2 separate regions of the Homo sapiens genome follow, and region 1 is linked to region 2. Evidence: promoter capture Hi-C in 16 types of primary human blood cells and fetal thymus (Javierre and others, 2016). All regions are on one chromosome and are shown on one strand. The core of a region is centred on a gene start or on the middle of the fragment in contact, and the rest is flanking DNA. Distances in the headings are between cores, read along the strand shown.

Evidence for each region. The method cuts DNA at HindIII sites, captures the fragments that hold promoters and counts their contacts. A CHiCAGO score of 5 or more calls a contact.
Region 1: a contact is called between a fragment that was not itself captured here and the fragment with the promoter of LCA5 in region 2, in 1 of 17 cell types (total B cells). The highest score is 6.0, in total B cells.

The regions. Positions count from the first base shown.
Region 1 is chr6:79,996,206-80,000,368 of GRCh38, reverse strand. No RefSeq gene overlaps it. Among named protein-coding and RNA genes, the nearest start is that of TTK, 6.4 kb to the left of the region's middle. The HindIII fragment of the contact is 390 bases long and covers 1,268-1,657 here.
Region 2 is chr6:79,535,205-79,539,399 of GRCh38, reverse strand. It overlaps LCA5 (lebercilin LCA5), which reads left to right and starts at 1,970. Exons shown (of 8, transcript NM_001122769.3): 1 at 1,970-2,235. It also overlaps a transcript of SH3BGRL2 not described here. RefSeq lists enhancers at 353-926, 1,457-1,506, 1,501-2,074. The HindIII fragment of the contact is 3,782 bases long and covers 1,012-4,195 here.

The sequences.
Region 1 (4,163 bases), core at 213-2,712, 460 kb before region 2:
GTCAGGAGTTCGAGACCAGCCTGACCAACATGGAGAAACCCCGTCTCTACTAAAAATACAAAATTAGCCAGGCGTGCTGGTGCATGCCTGTAATCCCAGCTACACGGAAGGCTGAGGCAGGAGAATCACTTGAAACTGGGAGGCAGAGGTTGTGGTGAGCCAAGATCTCGCCATTGCACTCCAGCCTGGGCAATAAGGGCGAAACTCTGTCTCAAAAAAAAAAAAAAAAAAAATATATATATATATATATATATATATCTCCATACATTTTCAGTCTCTGCTATATAGAGAGAGCCTCACGTAGTTGGTTAATATACCACAATATCCTGAAGAAAATAAGCAGGATATTGAAAAAAAACGTGCAAATATAATCCCAGAAACATTGCTGGCAATCTCTGAAAAGTCATAATAAGTAGAAGCAATGATAGAAAGCCAGAAATGGATGGACAAGTGTTACCTTTTTGGAAAAGGTAGAATTTGGAAGCTATTAATCTCTATAATCTCAATGTAGATTTTAGAATTTTAGACCCCTTCTGGGATCAATTACCGAACTGTTTGGAAGCAAAGATCTCTAGAAGCCAATGTAAATGCATTAAGAGCAGGCTATATAGAATATACTAAGTTCTGATTTTGATTGTTTGTATATTTAGAAAAGGGAAGGCCATAAATACAGACTATCTTAACTTTGGCAAATAAAATGATAAAGGCTCTCTTACTGCTTTTGTGGAAGAAAGGAGCAAGTAATTCCCATATGGTTAATGTGAAGTATTTCTGCAACTCTGGATCATTTTTCTCCAAGATCACTTGTTAATAGTTTGAGAACTTCAGGTTGATCCCTAGTAGAAGGTCTCAGAACTCTGTCTGTGGTTTTATTCTAAACTACATATCTTATCTGTGTCACAAACATATAAAAATAATGCTTAACTTTTCATATGAATTAAAAAAAGACAAAATTAGAAGATACTTTAAAAGGACAAAGTTGATAATATGCAATTTATAGAGATAAATGTAAGTCTGTACATTTAGATTTCTAAAAATAATAAAATTATCAAATACACAGTTAGAGTCTAGCCAAGATGAAGAAACATGGTTCAGATTTATTCTCTGAAACAACAGTAACAACAAAAACTATACAAAATAAATGAAATAATGGTTTTCAAGCATCAGACATCAGGCAATACAGTACAGTGATCCTTAAGAATAGTGAAACAAACAAGTGAGTCATAATGTTGCCTCCAGATTACTTACTGGTGAGAGTTTCCAAGCTTCAGTGTACAAAGGGAGAACCCAGGCATTGCCTGGTATTCTAAAGTTAGGAAGATGGAGTTCATAGTCTGGAATGGCCAAGGCAGGTGAAGTTCACAGGACAGCGTACCAGAGAAAAAGAGCAGAACAGAGAGAGAATTCTGGAAATCTGCAGAGAATGTCCTTGAGTCTCCAGCTCTGTATTGGTAAGTGCAAGTGTATGTGGAAACTATCACAAGACCAGAGGAAGATAACAACCAGGGGAAAGAATAAAAGGGAATAATGTCAAGAGCTCATAAAGGACAAGAAATAGTTTTTGTTCACAAAGCAACAAGTAGAAGACTCATGATATTGCCTTAGAACTGGAGCAAAATTAGCCCTACAGCATGCAATGGCCCAGTCTATAAAAGCTTAAGAGCAAACCTTAAAAGGATCAGTATTTATAGAAATATGAGAAAATCCAACTGGGTCAAATTTACAATGTCTGGCATCTAATTAAAAAATTACTAGGCACTTAAAGCAGGAAAATGTAAATCTAAATGAGGAAGTGGGGGTGGAAATCAGTCAATTAAAACAGATGCAGAAGTGGCACAGATTACCCACTAATAGACAAACAGTAATTATAACTGTATTCCATATGTTCCAGAAAGTAGAGGAAAGTGTAAACATGTTAAAAAGAAATATGGAATATATGAGAAGACCAAAAACAAATGTATAGAGATGAAAAATGCAATACCTGCAATAAAAATTATATTGGATAGGATTAATAGCAGATTACAGTCTGGAAAACAAAATATCCTAAACTTGAAAACATATCAATAATAAACTATGCAAAATAAGGCACAGAGAAGCAAAGAAACAAAAATACAAAGAACTTCAGTGAGTTGTGGAAAAACAATGTGGCATAATGTACATGTGATTGGAGTTTTCACAAGAAAGAAGGGAGAATTGAAGAATATATTTGAAGAAAAAATGGCCAAAATTTGTTTAAATATGTTGAAAACCATAAACAAACAAATTGAAGAAGTTCAACAGATTCTAAACACAAAAAACTTCATGAAAACAACACCTGTGCACATTATTACATTGGACAAAACTAATGATAAAGAGAAAATATTAAAAGCAACCAGAGGAAAAGTACAAATTAGATATAGATGAACAATCATAAGAACAGTAGACTTCTTGCCAGAAACAATGTAAGCTGGGCAACAATGGAGTGACATCTTTAACCCTTTTCCCATTTAGGAAAAAAAACTACAGTTGCCTGCCATCACTCATTTAATTTTACATAAACATGCTTTTTGAGGCTGAAGCAAATCTGACTGATTTTCAATGTGAAAATAAAATCTAAAAACTGCTCTTGGAGTTATTTCTAAACGTAACTAACATCAGAATTGTCTGAATCATCAGTATTGTCAGTTTTGAAAAAATTGGATTCATCAAATCAATCTTCAGCCAACAACTGTTTGAGAATGATGTTAACATCACACGTAGAAATGCTGTGTTTTATAGGATTTGACATTTTCAGCAATTGAGAATTACTATGTTTTGTAAATGGAAATACAAAACACCAGTACTAAAAACAGAATATTGTAATACTGTTATTATTTTATTTATTTTTTATTTTTTTGAGACAGGGTCTTTCTCTGTTGCCCAAGCTGGAGTGCAGTGGTGCGATCTCGGCTCACTGCAATATCTGCCTCCCAGGTTCAAACAATTCTCCTGCCTCAGCCTCTCAAGTAGTTGGGATTACAGGTGTGTGCCACCATGCCTGGCTAATTTTGTATTTTTAGGCTGTTCTCGAACTCCTGACCTCAAGTGATCTGCCTGCCTTAGCCTCCCAAAGTATTGGGATTACAGGTGTGAGCCACCTCACCTGGCCCAGAATGTTGTAAGTAGAATGATGTCTTTGTTTCCAAAGTCAATGTACTAGAATGATGCAAAAATAATAAAAGTGAGATATTTTGTGGCAAATTTATCTCAGGGTAAACACAGCAGCTACAGGCATGTATTCTTGGGGCAAACAGGAAAAGGGTTAAAATGCTGAAAGAAAAAGAAAAAATAATTCTATAAACCTAGAATTGTTATTTCCAGCAAAAATATTGTTCATTATGAAGGGAAAATAAAGATTTTTTTTCAGACATACAAAAGCTGAAATAATTCATCACCAGTAGAATGGCACCACAAAAATTATTAAAGGAAGCCTTCAGGCAGAAAAATTCTGAATCTACATAAAAGAATAAAGAATACTGGAAATGGTAAATATGTGGATATGTAAAAAGATATTTTTCTTATTTTTGAAATCTCTTTAAGAGATAACTAAAGCAAAAGATGATAACAATGTACTGTCAGGTTTATAACATATAGAGAAGTAAAACATGACAACACTCACACCAGTGCTGGGAGGAGGAAAATGAAAGAATATTATTTAAGGTTTCTTTCTACTCTACATAAATTGGTATATTACTTGTGATAAGTTAAAGGTGAACTCTATAAACCTCCATTCTCTATCATGGTAACTAGCCACATGTAGCTCTTGAGCCCTTGAAATGTAATTGGTCCAAAATGAATGTGCTGTAAGTATAGAATACACACCAGATTTCAAAGACATAGTGTAAAAAGAATAAAATTTACCATTAATATTTATATACTGTTGCAAATTATTAATATTATTATTATTAATTGAAATTACAATAATTTGGGAATATTACTTTTAATTTCACCTGCTTCTTTTAACTTTTAAAAAGTGTGGCTATTAGAAAACATATAAATTACATATGTGGCTCACATTATGTATCTATTGGACAGTGTTACTAGAAACCCTAAAGTAGCCACTAAAATCAAACAAACACAAGTAAAAGCCAACAAACAAACAAAAAAAAACACAGCTACTAAGTGAACAAAAGACAGAAAACAAA
Region 2 (4,195 bases), core at 721-3,220:
ATGTGGTTTTGATAACTTTGTTTCCTTTATTTCTGAAAAGCAGAATCCTGTGTGGTACTGAAATAAAATGTCAAATGGTATCTTAGAAAATTCTAGCCCTATCAAAAATAATATATAAAACCATGTAATGTCATAAAACTTTTAAAACTGCTTTCTCATATTTTGGGGTAACCTTTTAAAATGGTAATTCAATAAACTAGTTTTTACTTCTGTAAATTTATACATTTTTTGGTCTTTTTTCAAGGTCAAACTGATACTGTTATTTTGAATATGAGGGGGTGAATAAAATTGCACACTGTAAGAATCCTGAGACTATGTTACACACAACTAGACAATTTTTTGGATTCTCCCAGCGTCTTAAATATTTTCTTGCTTACCAACAACTTCTTAACCTGTAGGTGAAACACAATGAAGGCACTAAATCCGAAACCACGAAATTTGGAAGCAGACCTAGGCTTGTACTCTGGCATTACTACTTACTACTTTCGTACCTTGTGGTAGATACTTTAACTTCTCTGAATCTGCTTTCTCAAGTATAAACAATGAATAACAATACCTGTCTGGAGTCATGAATGAAGATGGAATGAGATTACACTGCCTGGAGCATTCTGAGTGCTGAATAAATGGTGGTTTCATTCTCAGCTCTCCTTCAGCAATCCTGATCTGACGCTCCTGTGACAGACATTTGTCCACGTAAATACGGTATGTTTTCTGATTCTTCCTAGCAACTTCCTTTATAAGTAATCCACCCATACATTTACATGTTAATTCTAACAGAGTCCATAATAACGAGTGAGCTATTTTAACAGTGTCAGCAGAGACAGATTAAAGAATTGATGAAAAGTAATTCCGTGCAATTTAGGGATTACTCATCTTATTTTCACTAACAGATGACTGCCATCTTGTACAGATGTATTTCGCATACAGAAAATTACATTTAATCACAATATTGTTTGGGTGGGTTAGTCTGTAACTTGAAGTAAAATGTATTGACAGGATAAAATGAAAGCTTTGAAACAGTGCAAAGGTGGAAAAACGAGGTTGAGCGAGAAGCAGGAATTACCAATCTTCATGGTTAGAAGATTCATTAAACGCATTTGCCTTCAAATATTAGATTCTCTACAGAATGGTGGTAAAAAGGCCAGTGAGAAATTAACAATAGTGAGAACACCAGAGTAGTGTTAAACCACCTTGATAATCAGATGGCTCGGAGCAGTTTAAAGCCCTCACGAAAGAGGATTTTTTTTTACCTTCCCTGTCTCCCGCAATTAATGCCATTTCTAAAAGAGAAAATATGTCACACATCAGCGCTCAATAGGCTGACATGCTCCTCAAAACGTTCCTTAAAAAAAAAAAAAAAAAAAAAAAAAAAAAAAAAAAACTTGTGTGCAAATATTTCAGATGCCATTCCACCCCAAACCCGTTCCAAAACCTAAAAATCACTTTCAAGCCAAACTCACGGCTCGTTGGTGATTCACAGCCAGGATCTCGAGGCAGGAACAATAGTGCACTCACCCCGCATCCTCCTGAATCAGCCATTTCGGTAAGAAGATCCAGAAGCACTAGCAGTTTGTTTGTAATTTGTTTACAATTTAAAAGCAAGTTATTTCCCAAAGGAAATCTAAGCAATTGTTAAGTGTTTTACATTACGCAGTCGCCAATTTTACAATTCATATCATGAACCCACTTTGCCCTCCGCCCGCGTCCCTCTCGGAGCCCACGACGCTCAGCAGTCGAGCCCTGGCACCGCACAGCCCGTAGGAGCCTGGAGCGCTCCGCGTTTTGCCCCAATTTCCCTACTTGGGGGTCTCCGCTACAGCTAGAGCGGTCGGCCAATGGAGACCTTCTCCCGCACTCGCCGTCCCGCCTTCCAGTTCCACTGAAGCCAATAAAAAGGGCCGTCTGGAGACAGAAGCCAATGGGAGCTCGGGTAGAGTCATCATGATTGGCTGCGGTCTCTTCGTAGTGCAGTCTAGGCCTCCGCCTCCGTTACCCTGGAGCCCAGGTTACCGCCGCTGCCACCCAGGAGCCCCGATCCTCGCCTCTGTCCCATCCTTGTGTTCAAACCTCCCGCATCTCGGCAACCTCGGCACCCGCCCGGCAGCCTCCGCAGGAACCAGGCACCCGCTCTTTGGCGGTCAGACGCCGAGGCCCCAGCTGGGAGTTTGGTCCTAAGAGGGAAGGCAAGGAGGCGGGACGCCGCATCGGCTCTGCTGAAGAGCCTGCGGGTTGGAGGTGGGCTTTGAAGTGGGCGTGGAGACGGCGGGGGAGGTGGAGGTGCGAGGTGAGGCTGGGTTGAAGCGTCTGGTAGCTAGTGAAGGGGCGTTCGTGGATGGGGGCCTGCGGGTGGTTCTTAAAGCAGGGAAGATGAAGGGATTAGGGATGGGGGAGGATGTAGGGACCGCGAGGAGAAGGAAGACCTAGGAAAATGAGTAAAGAGCTCGGCTTCTGAGAGGGTCCCGAGGAAGGGAGGTTGACCGGCACTGGGGGGACTGGGAAGTTAGGAGGAGAGGAGCTGGGAAAGGGTATTTACTTCCTGGGACCGAGAAGAGAAGAAAGGGAGCAAGCGGATCTAGAGAAGTGGTTGTTATTAAAACAAACAAAACAAAAACCCCGGAGGCCCGTGGAGACTCAAGACTAGAGAGGAGGGGCAGGGCCAAGGGCCAAGACGGAAAAGGAGGCTTTGGTAGCTCTCGGATAATAATAGATGTGTTATTATTAAAACTGTGGTTAGAGTGGAAAGCCGTACTTGTCCAGGCTGTGATACTTCTATACATCCTTCAGGGATGGGATGAGAGGAGTAAAGATGGTTAGAAATAAAAGAAAAAAGAAAGTGCCTTTTTGGCATACTCGAGTTGGAGTCGGTACTCAGATACGTGATGTTTACGTTAGATAGACCGTGGGATAGTGTTTAACAGTGAAGAGCCCTGGTCCAGTTCATCTGATATAAACCCCTTTTTTGTTCACTTTGTTCTTTGGAAAGTATACTTGGGCACATACATATTTATTCCCCTCCTTTATCTTCACGTTAAGAACTTGCATTAGAGATATCTTTGCAATCAGAAGTCATCATTTAGTTTTTGGCAGAGGGAGTGGCTATATGTGTTTTAGAATGGTAAAACCGATGTTTCCAGTTCTTTACTCATTCCCTCTTTCTTTTGCATGGTTATTTTAATCTATGTTTTTTTCCAGTTGTTCCACATTTAAATTCTATATTACCATTTTAAATATTTCACTTTGTGATTTCCCATGTTAGCTAGTATGTTTATCCAAATAAGTTATAGGAAATAATAGTTTGTTTTGATTCTCTAAGTTGACAAAGTATCATTTTAAATATCAAAAAGTAGTTTGTGACTTTGGAAAAGAGATTTTTCTTCTTTTGTGAGTCACATCTCTTCCGTTACACATATTGTGGAACTATAATTCTGTAGGACACAATGGAAGCCCATTAAATAAAGATGCTACCCTTCTCTTGGGTTCTTCATCTGCCTGTCATTCTTCAACTCCTTTGTGGGATCTTCTTCCTCGGCCCACCATATTTCATTATTGTTTTTCCCAATAATCCAGTCTTCAGTCTTCCGTCTTCTATTTTTTACTCTGTGTTCTTGGCTGTGTTCTTCCTCTCCTTTGGCTTACACTATTTGTGTTTTATTAACACTCTCCCAATTTTTTATTTCTGATCTGGAACTTTTGAGTTACTGTCAAACTTTTGTAGCTAATTTTTGGTATTTCCACATAAATTTCCTATCCATAGGCATCCCAAACTCAGTATGTCCAATATTGAACCCATCACCTTTCCCTGCCAAAGCTGTCCTGCTTGAATACCACATTCTCCTAATTTTGCAAGCCCAAAACTTTGGAATTTACTCAAGTTCTTCTCTATTCTCAGACTTCATATTTAATCTGTCACCAAGTGTAGTTTATCTTACTTGAAAAACATTTCTGGAATCAGTTCCGTACTCTGTATCTCTAGTTATACTACTTTCAAAACACTGTCTGTCAGTGATTATCGAGACCAATTGATATTCTTCCTCCAGCTTTCCTGCCCTCCAATTCTTAGATTGGAGATGGATCCTTGCAAATGTCAGATCTGATAATATTAACCCTACTGAAGAGCCTTGGTTTCCAACCAACTTATTAATGACATAGAGATTCTTCTTGTGATATTATCTTCCACCCGATCCAGTCCCACTTA